Linked DNA regions of Homo sapiens: all the other regions are linked to region 5. The links are contacts of gene promoters, found by promoter capture Hi-C in blood cells and fetal thymus (Javierre and others, 2016). All regions are on one chromosome and are shown on one strand. Each heading gives the region's core, a stretch centred on a gene start or on the middle of the fragment in contact. The rest is flanking DNA. Distances are from core to core; before and after follow the strand shown. Region 1 holds the start of VN1R4 (vomeronasal 1 receptor 4). Region 2 overlaps ZNF677 (zinc finger protein 677). Region 3 overlaps ZNF665 (zinc finger protein 665). Region 4 holds the start of ZNF665 (zinc finger protein 665). Region 5 holds the start of ZNF528 (zinc finger protein 528).

Region 1 (2,700 bases), core at 173-2,672, 870 kb before region 5:
TTAAGGACTGTGGTACTAAAATCAATCTGCTGTTCCGCCTACCCAACAGGAATTATACACTAAAATTTCAGGATTGCTGAGGAAATGACTATAATATCACCATACTTGTAATGAATAGATTGACTCTACAGGAGTCATGTAATTCCTTACACAAACAGTGTATCTAATTAGTAGTTGCTGGAACGAAAATGTTTTCTCTAATTCTGAGAGTGTGCAGGGCTTAATGGGAGCATTAATTGTGTCTCTACTGAAAACTGCCATAGTCTGTTGATTATGGTGAGACTGTCTTTCCTCTTGATGTTAAGGAGGCAGCATTTAAGGAAAAGGTAACTTTATAATAATGAGCTAAAGAGAGCAGCTATCAGACTCAAATGTGTCCTCTGATGTGTTCTCTGCTTCAGATAGATTCTAACATCACCCAAACTCTCTAATTTCCGTTTACAAAGTATATATAATATACACCCACTAGAGTTTCCAATTTTCACGTTTGTCACATTTTAATTTAGTTATGCAAATATTGTCCTAAGGATAATAATTTATTTAACTCAGTTATTAATAGATCTAGATATGTCATCTAACATTTGTAAGAATTTGGTTATTACCTTACACTATTTTATCCCATATTGTTGTTTCATGTCCTATTGTTTTGGGTAAGACATGATTGTGGTAGGTGCCTTTATGCCTTTGTCCGTGGCACAAAAGCAAATGCTCACAATGTTTTTTACTCTCTTTCCATTCTAATATTGATCCATGCTTGCAGTCATTAAATCCAACTTGTCATGGTGCAGGTTTCTATAGTATCAAACTGTAATCCCTGCATCTACATTTTTTAAGATCTCTAAACCTTTATTTATTTGGATATTGACAAATAGAATACATTTTTACACATAATGTAAAATCATTACAACATACAGTAACCTACTACAAGACTGAAATATAATGACAAGGAATAAAAACAAAGGGGTGTGTGTGTGTATGTGTGTGTGTGTGTGTGTGTGTGTGTGTGTGTGTGTGTGTGTCTTATTCAAAGAACACAGCTATCTAGCTTTGTTAGTCAACTATAACGGCTAAATGCACTGTCTTTGCAATAAAACCAGGCAGGTTCAAGTTCGCATTTTGCCTGTAAGTAGGGTGGAAATGTTGCCAGCCACTTCACCTCTCTGTGTGTATGTCCTTCTCATATTTACAATGAAAGTAATAGTAATGCCTGCCTCATAGGTTTGTGAATAAAGAAGTTGCCGCACGTATGATCTGCACAGCAGTGATTCCCACATGGGAAGTGCTCTTTAAAGGTTACGCATTCAACTCTCAAAAGCCTCTTAAGAGAAGAGTGACTTTAAGTATTTCTAAGGGCAGAGCAATGGGAGGTGGAGAATGCTGGGTTGCAGGTGACACTATAAACGTAGCTCATGCCTCCTATTTCCATGCAGGACCTCCCAGCCCTGAAGACAAACATCAGTGACAGACATCAGTGGCAGAATGGCCTCCCGGTATGTGGCAGTGGGAATGATCTTATCACAGACCGTGGTGGGAGTCCTGGGGAGCTTCTCTGTTCTTCTCCATTATCTCTCCTTTTACTGCACTGGGTGCAGGTTAAGGTCCACAGATTTGATTGTTAAGCACCTGATTGTAGCCAACTTCTTAGCTCTCCGCTGTAAAGGAGTCCCCCAGACAATGGCAGCTTTTGGGGTTAGATATTTTCTCAATGCTCTTGGGTGCAAACTTGTTTTCTATCTCCATAGAGTGGGCAGGGGAGTGTCCATTGGCACCACCTGCCTCTTGAGTGTCTTCCAGGTGATCACGGTCAGCTCCAGGAAATCCAGGTGGGCAAAACTTAAAGAGAAAGCCCCCAAGCATGTTGGCTTTTCTGTTCTCCTGTGCTGGATCGTGTGCATGTTGGTAAACATCATCTTTCCCATGTATGTGACTGGCAAATGGAACTACACAAACATCACAGTGAACGAGGATTTGGGATACTGTTCTGGGGGAGGCAACAACAAAATCGCACAGACACTGCGTGCAATGTTGTTATCATTCCCTGATGTGTTGTGTCTGGGGCTCATGCTCTGGGTCAGCAGCTCCATGGTTTGCATACTGCACAGGCACAAGCAGCGGGTCCAGCACATTGATAGGAGCAATCTCTCCCCCAGAGCCTCCCCAGAGAACAGAGCTACGCAGAGCATCCTCATCCTGGTGAGCACCTTTGTGTCTTCTTACACTCTCTCCTGCCTTTTCCAAGTTTGTATGGCTCTTTTGGATAATCCCAATAGTTTACTGGTGAACACTTCAGCCTTAATGAGTGTATGTTTCCCAACTCTCAGCCCCTTTGTTCTCATGAGCTGTGACCCCAGTGTATACAGGTTTTGTTTTGCCTGGAAAAGATGACAAGATCTCCTAACCTCATCATAAACATGTACATTGTATATATTTGCTCATGGTTCAATTGATGACTTACTCTTCTGTGCCGCAATGTAATCTTAATTATGAACCTCTCCCAATTATGAGAAGGTGATGAACAAGACAGGGTGAACTTCCACCCCAATGATAAACAATAACTAGTAAGAACAATTGTAAATGAAATATGATGCAATTATTATGTAAATATTCATATTATCAAAGTTTTATTAAGGCCTGCAGTAGAGTCATTAAAGGTCTACGCAATTAAAAAAATTAGGTCCTGAATCAATCTGGCAATGATGG
Region 2 (2,700 bases), core at 198-2,697, 840 kb before region 5:
TGTGAGTTAGGGATAGATATGTAAACCTCTTCAGCCCTTTGTTTTGGTATGAAAAGGTGCGATAATTTACCTCAAGAGGATTTACATCAATTAGTGCTGTTAGAGACCTTAGTAACTTGCATAGCATTTAGTATGCTTTGAAAAGTTACCTTTATGAATAAGATATGTCAAGTGTCTGTCATGTTTCTTATGAGATTGACCTTTGCCTTCATTATATCTTACATATTTTCTTTTTTGTAATTTTTTTTTTCATATCAACATTTCTCTGACTCTACATAATAAAATGTTAAAGCACACAGCTTTCATTATATGTATTTTTTGGCCATAGAACTGGAAAACTAGATGACATTTCCTAGTCAGGGAGTTTCTCTATATACTGCTGTCATATAACTGCAGGCATGAAATTATTTCAGACTCCCCTCCTAATTCTTCATCTTTATAGTAATGTGCATTTACCTGAAGCTGATATTTCAAAATTTAGTGATTCTCAACATATTATTTTTCCTATTGTGTGTCCCTTCTGTTTTTTCTGTAGTTCATAAGCAGTAATTCTTTAGAATTTCACTGACAATTTTGTGTAATTGTGGTTGTTCATTAACTTGCCTGTTAGATTTTCACAGGTTACTAAAGTGTTTTATTTATTTTTGTAATGATTTACAGATGATGGTTTTTCAGTATATATTATGCAATAGAACCACCATGCACAAATTGTTAATGCTGCAAAATGCACATTCTACATGGGTGTAAGTAGTTTTATAACAAGTACTCACATTTGCAATTTGTAAATATTCAAAATTTTATTAAATTCTTCCGAATTTTTTCTTTCAGTGTTTTGTTTGCAATTATGAATTGTCATTTTTAAATATTTTTTATTAGATAAGCTTGAGCTGTGCCTTACCTTTTGTGTGTAATAATTATGTACTAAATAATGCATTACTATTTGTTTATCTTCAAATATGAGACTACCATATAGCTATGCCAATTTACGTGTTCCTTGGAGTGGTGGTGGAAAAATACCTCTTCTTTCAGAGTTTATGTGGATTTACATAGTATGAGTGTTTTAGCTATAGGGTGTTTTAAACTGTGCTTAAAATAATTTGTTACATGTTTTGTTACTGTGTTACTTTATTGAGGACAGCTAGTCCCTTTGTGTTGTTAAACGTTTAAAGACAGTTGAGAAGCTTCATAACTCTGTTCATTGTAAATCTTAGCTTTCTTGTAATATGTATTTTAATAAAATATTTACCTTGCAACTCTATTTGATGGAAAGCCTGTGGTTTTTTTAATATCTTTCAGATATTTCTGTTGGATTTACAAGCAAGGGATTATCACCAAAGGAAAATAATAAAGAGGAATTATACCATCTGGTGATATTAGAAAGAAAGGAAAGCCATGGCATCAACAATTTTGACCTCAAGGAAGTCTGGGAAAATATGCCTAAGTTTGACAGCCTGTGGGACTATGATGTAAAAAATTACAAAGGAATGCCTTTGACCTGTAACAAAAATCTCACTCACAGAAAAGATCAACAACATAATAAATCCTCAATACATTTCTCTTTAAAGCAGAGTGTTTCTATAAGAGATAGTGCACACCAGTATTTCATCCATGACAAGCCATTTATAAGGAATTTGTTAAAACTGAAAAATAACATAAGGTATGCCGGAAACAAATACGTGAAGTGTTTTGAAAATAAAATTGGATTAAGCTTACAGGCACAGCTGGCTGAACTACAGAGATTTCAAACTGGGGAGAAAATGTATGAATGTAATCCAGTTGAGAAGTCTATCAATAGTTCCTCAGTTTCACCACTTCCTCCTTGTGTCAAAAACATTTGTAATAAATATAGGAAGATTTTGAAATACCCTTTATTACATACACAGTATGGGAGAACACACATTAGAGAAAAATCATACAAGTGTAATGACTGTGGAAAGGCTTTTAGCAAAAGTTCGAACCTCACTAATCATCAGAGAATTCACTCTGGACAGAGACCTTACAAATGTAACGAGTGTGGCAAAGCCTTTAACCAGTGTTCGAACCTCACTAGGCATCAGAGAGTCCATACAGGAGAGAAACCATATCAATGTAATATATGTGGCAAGGTCTGTAGTCAAAATTCAAATCTTGCAAGTCATCAGAGGATGCATACTGGAGAGAAACCTTACAAATGTAATGAATGTGGTAAGGCATTTATCCAGCGTTCACACCTTTGGGGTCATGAAAGAATTCATACTGGAGAGAAACCTTACAAATGTAATGAATGTGACAAAGCCTTTGCTGAACGTTCAAGCCTTACCCAACATAAGAGAATCCATACTGGAGAGAAGCCTTACATATGTAATGAGTGTGGCAAAGCTTTTAAGCAGTGCTCACATCTCACTAGGCATCAGAATATACATCCTGGAGAGAAACCACACAAATGTAATGTGTGTGGCAGGGCTTTTATCCAAAGTTCAAGTCTTGTGGAACATCAGAGAATTCACACTGGAGAAAAACCTTACAAATGTAATAAATGTGATAAAGCTTTTATCAAACGTTCACACCTTTGGGGTCATCAGAGAACTCATACTGGAGAGAAACCTTACAAATGTACTGAATGTGGCAAAGCCTTTACTGAACGTTCAAATCTTACTCAGCATAAGAAAATCCATACTGGAGAGAAACCTTACAAATGTACTGAATGTGGCAAAGCTTTTA
Region 3 (2,700 bases), core at 57-2,556, 760 kb before region 5:
GCATCAAAAGATACATCTTTGATGAAGTCACACAAACGTAACATGCATGCTGAGACTATTACTCCTGGACCACAACTGTAGGTGAGGATTCATAGGAAGAGTAGAACTCAGTCTCTAGTTTCCTCATAACCCTCTGATATTATATACTTCAGCATAATCAGAAGTCCAAATGTGTTAAAACTCATTACATGATACATATCAAAGGTTGTAGGATGTTTGGAAATGGCCAATTACTTTCAGCTTATAAAATGTTTTGTTGAAGTATTTAAGATTTATTGAAAAGGCTACTATTTATAACTTCCAACCAGAACTTTGCAATGTGCTGATTTTATACATGATTATACGCCTAACATGGTGTTGTTCGGGAAAGAATCAAAGGATGGAAGGGCTCACTCACTTCATTAGGTGAGGATTATTTCTCTCCAAGCTCCTGAAGAAAAAAGACTCTGCCTTTTAAAATTAAATATAGTCTGAATTAGAGAGCACTTGGAAAGGGCAGAGGATGATGAACTATGATGTCACTCATCATCCTTATTGCACTGCAGGTGCCCTTCTTCTGACAGAAGAGCACTGTGGGTATGGGAAGAAATTCTCTACTGGCCGGGCACAGTGGCTCACGCCTGTAATGCCAGCACTTTGGGAGGCCAAGGTGGGTGGATCACCTGAGGTCGGGAGTTCGAGACCAGCCTGACCAACATGGAGAAACCCCATCTCTACTAAAAATACAAAATTAGCCAGGCATGGTGGCGCATGCCTGTAATCCCAGCTACTCAGGAGGCTGAGGCAGGAGACTCGCTTGAACCCGGGAGGCAGAGGTTGTGGTGAGCCGAGATCATGCCACTGCACTCCAGTCTGGGCAATAAGAGCGAAACTCTGACTCAAAAAAAGAAAGAAAGAAATTCTCTACCAGTAGACCATGAAATAGAGCCAGGAAGACACTCGGATTTTTATTAGAGGAGAGTAATAGCTTATTAGGGACTGATGTGTGGTACAAATAATGCAGAAAAGTGGAGGCTACCTTCTCCATCAAATGCCAATAGCTGTTGCATAGCAAAGATTGATTTTTTTTTTTTTTTTTGAGATGGAGTCTTGTTCTGTTGCCCAGGCTGGAGTGCAGTGATGCAATCTCAGCTCACCGCAACCTCCGCCTCCTGGGTTTTAGCGATTCTCCTGCCTCAGCCTCCCAAGTAGCTGGGATTACAGACATGCACCACCACGCCTGGCTAATGTTTGTATTTTTAGTAGAGATGGAGTTTCACTATGTTTGCCAGGCTGGTCTCGAACTCCTGACCTCATAATCCGCCCACCTTGGCCTGCCAAAGTGCTGGGATTACGGGCTGGAGCCACCGTGCCCGGCCGGCCGAGCATAAGAAGTTTAATCAAAGTAACCAGAATCCCATGTTTGTTACTAGGATTTACATTAACTGCTGGAATCACATTTTGCTACTATTTAAGAATGCATCATAGATTTAATGTTTTAACTAATAAAATTTGATGTATTTTATAAGTATGAATGAATCATTTCTTGCCAACATAGTTTTATCCTACCTCAGTAGCATACTTCATAACAGATAACAACACTGCACCATTAAGCTATCGAAGGATCTAGAACAATGATTTCCATTGTTGGATCAAACAACATATAATTTTCAGAAACTAAGTGTATTTTGGTTTTTTTGTTTGTTTGTTTGAGATGGAGTTTCATTCTGTCACCCAGGCTGGAGTGCAGTGGCGTGATCTCGGCTCACTGCAACCTCTGTCTCCCGGGTTCAAGCAATTCTCCTGCCTCAGCCTCCCAAGTAGCTGGGATTATAGGTGCCCGTTACCACACCCGGCTAGTTTTTGTATTTTTAGTAGAGACAGGGTTTCACTATGTTGGCCAGGCTGGTCTCGAACTCCTGACCTCAAGTGATCCACCTGCCTTGGCCCCCCCAAAGCTCTGGGATTACAGGTGTGAGCCACCATGCCCAGCCCAGAAACTAATTGTATTTTGTACTTGAATTATTCTCTCCACACTCTGCCTTGGGATACTTATGTGGTATAATGAAAATCCCACAGAAAGGATATTTCAGACTCTCACACCCTGAAGTCTGCATTGCTCTTCATGCATATGCACAGTATTATTATATTTTTGCATGTCTCTTTCTTGCATGCCAAATAACACCTATGGCATTTATCTTGATGTACCTGAAGTGAAAATACAAGTATAGTAAAAATATGACATATTAGGAAACAAAAAAACTGTGGGGAATATGGATAAAAACAACAACATCTCTTTTTTACCTTTGGAATGCTCAGTGGCAATTGGAAAAATTAATATATATAAATTTTCTTTTAAGAAAGAACATAACACATTCAGATTTTTTTTTTTCCTGGCAGATAAACGACAAAGTTTGTATGTTCACCCTCATAACATTTTGATCATTTGAACTTGTGACCTCTCTACTGGAACTGTATTGAACTTCACCTAAAGGTTGGTTGAGAAGTGTTATGAGACTGTTTATTACATAATGTGGGTTTCTGGGGAAAGCTGGGTAGACTTCCAAAGCTGGTCTAAAAATGGCTTGAGAGCCCAGATAAGCAACTTGCTTGGTGTGTTATGGTTGATAAGGTGTGGGGATGGGTTAGAGGAAGCTTTGTGTGGTTTGAACGTCCATCTAGTGACAAAGGAGGAAGCACTCAAGCATGACCAGTTTGACC
Region 4 (2,700 bases), core at 111-2,610, 800 kb before region 5:
AAAGATCTTTTTCTCATGGGCTATTATGTTGTTATTTGAGTTAATACAGGTAAAGTATTCCGAATAATGCCTTGCACATAGTGTTCAGAAAAGTCAGTCATTGCTATTGCCATTATCATCACAGTTTTTACTTCTGGCCAGTGTTTCTGTAAAGCCACTGTGGACCTTGTCACCTCAGAAGACATCATTCGTGCTTTAGCTTATCTAGATACGGAGTATCACTTAGTGTGTTGAAAATAATATCTAACACTTCTATAGAGATCAGCTTGTGTTTGGGTTTTTATTTGTCTATTTATTGTATTGTCCACAAAACTGAAAACTCCACACAGATTTAGAGGCTATTATAACTACTTAGGGAAAAGTACAATAAAACAGAATTAGGGAGACATAACTTGCTCAAAAATGCCTTCACGCTGGGGCGGTGGCTCAGTGAGCCGAGATCATGCCATTGCATTCCAGCCTGGGCGACAAGAGCAAGACTCTTGTCTAAAAAAAAAAAAAAAAAAAAAAAAACAACAACAAACCTCACATATTCGTATTTAAGAATATAGGAAACACTGATTCAGTTTCTTCTACTGTTCTCTCACAACACAGAATGCTACAGTTAGCCCAGAGGTACTGGGTTTTCCCACACACACCAAGCAAGCAATCCTGCCACAGACACCAGGTGCGTGTTCTCTCATTCCGTTCCATTTTGCCGGGACATGGCATCAGATCCCACACGTTGAGGGCTCAGTCCCACAATAGTGCACACATTTCAATGCCAGTCTCAAGCAGAGGTTGTGACTTGTGCTTACAGATCAGATATAAATCCAGGAGTCCCTTGACCCCCTCCTCAGGTTCAACGAATTTGCTAGAGTGGCTCACAAAATACAGGGAAACACTTTACATAGATTTACGTATTATAAAGGATATTACAAAGTTGACAGAAGAACAGCCAGATGGAAGGGATCAGTGAGGTGAGGCATGGGAGAAGGGGCGTTGAGCCTTGGTGCCCTCCCTGGGTGCACCACGCTGCAGGAGCCTCCCAGTGTTCACCTATCCAGAAGCTCCGCTGAATCCTCTCCTTTTGGGTTGTTATGGCGCCTTCATTACATATGCATGATTGCTTATATTACTGGCCATTGGTTAAACTTTTAGATAGCCTAAGTTTTGTTTTTTTTTTTTTTTGGGAGAGACGAAGTCTCACTCTGTCACCCAGGCTGGAGTGCAATGGCGCGATATCGGCTCATTGCAACCTCCGCCTCCAGGGTTCAGGCCCCGCCCCGGCCCCGCCCACCCTATGCTCTCAGTCCCTCCCAACGCCTGGCCTTTCCCCACCGCAACCCGCCCCTTTGCCTACTGCGCGGGCAGTTTCTTGCAAACCCGGAAGCAGATCTCTTGGAGTGAAGGCTGTTAGTCGCCGCGTGAGTTTCCCTCTATCTAGATTAAACCTGCGTTTCGGAGTCCCCTGCTCCTCCGTACCCGATGTCCGGGGGTTCGTATAGCCCTTAAAGTCCCCGCACGGCTCCCTCCATTCCATGTAAATTCAGACTTTGCCGCGAGACTCTGGGGGTCGCATCGCTTTGGGTTAAAATCACACAGGCTGGTCCTGCCCGCGGTCTTTCGGCCTTCAGACCATGCAGACACCTCCTTTCCTGCGCCGTTTCCTGCTTAAAACCCTTTACTGACCTGCGCCCTGTGAAGTCCTCATCTGCGAAGTGGGTGCAGGATTTTACCGTCCCCTAACCTCGCCCTAGTCAGCTACTGGAGCGTTAGCGCCGCAGCCCCAGTCCCGGGGAGGCCGCGCCTCTGCCTGGTCCTGGGATCCTGCATACCCCACCCCTCTCCTAAGGCGCCGTCGCCCCCCACCTCCCTCCTCCTCGTGCCGGGCCCTGCTGCTCCCTAGGCCTCCCCTTCGCAGTCACCGTTTCCCCTGAGCCCGCGTTGGGGAGGTGCCCGGGCCTTGTCCTGTGATACCCGGTGTTCTTGCCTGCCCAGCTCCACCCGCTGGAAAATGTGCTCCTCCAGGATCCAGGTGTCTTACTCCAAACCCTCCCTGTGAATGTGTGGGCCAAGGGGATCAGGAGACAGAGAGGGGGGCTGAGAGAAAAGTAGAAAAACGGAGACAGAGGAAAGAATGAGGGAAACCAGTAAACATGGCAAAGTAGAGGATGGGTCAGGATTTACAAAGAGACAGTAAGGGTGAAAGAAGTCGCTGAGAAAGTAACAGGATGGAGAAACAACTGGAGAAATGTAGAGAAAAGCTCGCTGTCTAGAGAGATGAAGGACAGCAAGGTAGGGAGAGGGGCAGCTCCTCAGACGGAGAGTTAGGGAGAGGAGGGGGTATTTGGAGCCAGGATAGACAGAGCAGCGTGGTGCTGGGACAGCAAGAAGGGGCAGCTGGTGACAAGGAGAGCAGAGGGAGAACCACAGCAGGGGGAGACCTGGGATCTGGGGGTGCCAAAGAGTGGGGACAAGGAAGTGAAACAGGGAAGAGGGGATTTAACAGGGAGAGCAGAGATAAGGGAAGAAAGAGGCAGAAATAGATGGAGATTGGGGACAACCAAAAGACGGGTGAAAGAGGAATAAGAGGTGAAACAAGTTGCAAGAATGGAACAGAACAAGTGGAAGAGAAGGATAGAGGGAAGGAGAAACAGCAGGAGAAGAGAGGGGCTCAAAATGAGGAGCAGAGACCCAGGCTGAAACACAGAAAAGAAA
Region 5 (2,700 bases), core at 51-2,550:
TATTTTCCCCTAGGATTCTGTTCATTTTGAGTCCCTCCTCTTCTCTTTGTCCCATTCTTCCCTCTATTCCTTCTCTCCCACCTGTTCTGATCCATTTTTACAACTTGTTTCACCTCTTATTCCTCTTTCTGCCCAATCTTTCATTGTCCCTAATCTCCATATATTTCTGCCTCTTTCCTCCCACATCTCAGCTCCCCTTGGGGTCTCCCTGTTAAATTCCATCTTCGATATTACACACCCCTGTCCCCACTCTCTGGCACCCTTAGATCCCAGGCCTCCCCCTGCTGTGGTTCTCCCTGTTCTCCTTGTGACCAGCTGCCCCCTCTGGCTGTCCCAGCACCACGCTGCTCTGTCTGACCTGGCTCCAAATCCCTCCTCCTCTCCCCCCTCTGTCTGAGAAGCCTTCCCTATCTTGTTGAATTTCGTCTTTCTACAGACCCAGGTTTGTCTATATTTTTACAGTTACTTTTCTCCCCTGCTATTTTCTCGGCACCTTCTTTCACTGTGCCTCTGCAAACCCCTCACTCACCTTCTACTTTGCCTTCTGTTAATGGGTCTCTCATTCTTCATTTCTCTTTCAAAATTTCTCTATTTCCTCTGCCTCGTTCCCATCTCTTTTTCTCCACACATTCACAGGGAGGGGATTGGAATAAGATGCCCACTTCCGGAAGAGCTCATTTTCTGTGGGCTGGAAACTGGCTCGAGAGAACACTGGATGTCAGGAGACTGAAGTCACCCCCCACACTCGGGGTCAGGAGAACCGGTGGCTGGAAAAGGGAGGCCTGGGGAACAGAGGGTCCAGATTAAGGAGCAAAAAGGCAGGAGTGGGTCAGGAGAGGGGTGGAGTCTGCAGAAACCAGGTCTGGGCAGAGGACGAGGCCTCTCGTGCCCTGTTGGGGCGCTGAGCTCTAGGGGCAAAGAAGGGCGAGGCTAGGGGAACGGAGAGTGAGGATTTTACGTGGTGCGGGGCGTGTGTAGGGGTTACTAAAGGATTTGAAGCAGGTAAACCCCACGATAGGAGGTGTCTACGTGGGTAAATGACAAAAAGACCGGGCACACGACCAGCCTCCAAGCGATTTTAACACGCAGAAAGCGACTCCCAGACTCTCAAAGGATGTCTGAATTTACTCGGGGTGGAGGGAGCGGTGCCGGGATTTCAAGGTCTGCATGCCCCTCAGCTCCCGGGTATAGAAGCAGAGAAGAACTGGCTAGCCTAGACTTAACATAGACAAAGGGAAACTCACGCACTGCTGCGAAAACAGTTTCTCCCTGCAATCGGCTTCCGGGTCTACCGGAAACTGCGCTCTAGGCGTTCGCCCCCCGCGGTCCGCTTCCGGGTTTGCACGAAATTGCGCGCGCATCCTAGAGGCCGGACTGGCTGGGACCAGGGCGGGCCGGGACAAAGCCTGGGCCGGGCCTGCGCTTCCGTTCGCTTGACTGGCTGCGCTTGTTTTCAGGGTTTTGGTCTGAAAACGGATCTTACCTGCGCAGAGCAAAATCGGTTGTAGATTATATCCACGAAAATTCCTTCTATTAAAATGAATTTCAAGTCCCACCTACCCTGGAAGCAGAAAGAGAGAGAAGAGAGAGAGTAAAGAGAAAGAGAAAAGAAAGAGAAGTTGAAAAAGAGAAAGAAAACCAAGAAAGAAAGAGAAAAAAACCGAAAATAAATGGACAAGAAAGAAAAGTAAGGAGGGAAGGGAAGGGAGGAAGGGAAGGGAAGCTTTAGGAATTGAATTAACACACTTTGGAATTGTCTGTGAAGGGGATGATGCAAGCTAAAATGTGAAATGCAAAACCCTGCCAGGGTAGAATGTTCTATTTCATGCCAGTGCCCATAGAAGATAAATACTTTTCATTTATCTTCCCCATTCACTCTAGACGGTGAAGGTCAACCCTGTGCTCAATTCCAGAGACTTTCCTAGGGACATCGTGTTGGGCATGGAGGACTAAGGCCAGTGTGAAGATAAGTCACCGATTCTTTAAAAAAAAAAAGCCAGTAACTTATAAAAATAGCCATAAACGACGTAGTTTTTTGTTGTTGTTGTTGTTTTGAGACAGCGTCTCCCTCTGTCCCCCAGGCGGGAGTACAGTGGCAGGCACTCAGCTCACTGTAACCTCCGCCTCCTGGGTTCAAGTGATTCTCTTGCCCCAGCCTCCAGAGTAGCCACCACGCCCGGTCCAACTTAGTTTTTTAATACTTTTTAAAATTTTAAGACAGGGTCTCTGCCACCGAGGCTGAAATGCAGTGGCGCAATCATAGCTCACTGCAACCTTGACTTCCTGGGGTCCTGGGCAGGTGACCCCCTGTCTCAGCCTGCCGAGTAGCTGTGAGTAAAGGCCTGTGCCTCTCCACTGTGCTAATTTTCTACTGTTTGTTGCTTTGTTTTTAATAGAGATGTAGTCTGGTTTTGTTGCCCAGGCTGGTCTCCAGCTTCTAGCCTCAAGCAGTCTTCCCATCTGCTCCTACCAAAGTGCTCGGATTATAGGCATGAATCACCTTGCATGGGAGATAAGGACCCCCACATCAAGCCCTCAGGTTATTTTTGAAACACAAATACATAAGGCCCACAAGCAGGCCCATTGGCTGCAGACAGTGGGGTCACCTGAAGAACTTTTCTTTGATCTGAGTACCAACTTCTCACCTAGGTCACTGGGATCCTGGACTACGGCACTGCTCCAGGCAGGCCTGGTTATCCT

What was found. Contacts are between HindIII fragments. The CHiCAGO score rates a contact against its expected background, and 5 or more counts as called.
Region 1: a contact is called between the fragment with the promoter of VN1R4 here and the fragment with the promoter of ZNF528 in region 5, in 4 of 17 cell types (erythroblasts, naive CD8 T cells, neutrophils and 1 more). The highest score is 7.6, in erythroblasts.
Region 2: a fragment that was not itself captured here is called in contact with the fragment with the promoter of ZNF528 in region 5 in 2 of 17 cell types (naive B cells and naive CD8 T cells); the score reaches 6.0 in naive B cells.
Region 3: a contact is called between a fragment that was not itself captured here and the fragment with the promoter of ZNF528 in region 5, in 2 of 17 cell types (total B cells and naive CD8 T cells). The highest score is 5.3, in total B cells.
Region 4: the fragment with the promoter of ZNF665 here is called in contact with the fragment with the promoter of ZNF528 in region 5 in 2 of 17 cell types (erythroblasts and total CD8 T cells); the score reaches 6.9 in erythroblasts.

What each region holds. Positions count from the first base shown.
Region 1 is chr19:53,266,445-53,269,144 of GRCh38, reverse strand. VN1R4 (vomeronasal 1 receptor 4) reads left to right here and starts at 1,422. Exons shown (of 1, transcript NM_173857.3): 1 at 1,422-2,469. The coding sequence starts at 1,480. The coding sequence ends at 2,385. The HindIII fragment of the contact is 11,315 bases long and covers 1-2,700 here.
Region 2 is chr19:53,237,154-53,239,853 of GRCh38, reverse strand. ZNF677 (zinc finger protein 677) reads left to right here. Exons shown (of 5, transcript NM_182609.4): 5 at 1,297-2,700. Among named protein-coding and RNA genes, the nearest start is that of ZNF677, 16 kb to the left of the region's middle. The HindIII fragment of the contact is 527 bases long and covers 1,184-1,710 here.
Region 3 is chr19:53,161,231-53,163,930 of GRCh38, reverse strand. ZNF665 (zinc finger protein 665) reads left to right here. Exons shown (of 4, transcript NM_024733.5): 4 at 1-1,507. Among named protein-coding and RNA genes, the nearest start is that of ZNF347, 3.5 kb to the right of the region's middle. The HindIII fragment of the contact is 2,661 bases long and covers 1-2,636 here.
Region 4 is chr19:53,192,018-53,194,717 of GRCh38, reverse strand. It overlaps ZNF665 (zinc finger protein 665), which reads left to right and starts at 1,360. Exons shown (of 4, transcript NM_024733.5): 1 at 1,360-1,406. RefSeq lists an enhancer at 1,395-1,544. The HindIII fragment of the contact is 17,049 bases long and covers 1-2,700 here.
Region 5 is chr19:52,396,449-52,399,148 of GRCh38, reverse strand. ZNF528 (zinc finger protein 528) reads right to left here and starts at 1,300. Exons shown (of 7, transcript NM_032423.3): 1 at 1,245-1,300; 2 at 530-782. It overlaps ZNF528-AS1 (ZNF528 antisense RNA 1), which reads left to right and starts at 1,392. Exons shown (of 7, transcript NR_125345.1): 1 at 1,392-1,687; 2 at 1,882-1,954; 3 at 2,397-2,539; 4 at 2,650-2,700. It also overlaps a transcript of ZNF880 not described here. RefSeq lists an enhancer at 789-1,988. The HindIII fragment of the contact is 5,447 bases long and covers 1-1,725 here.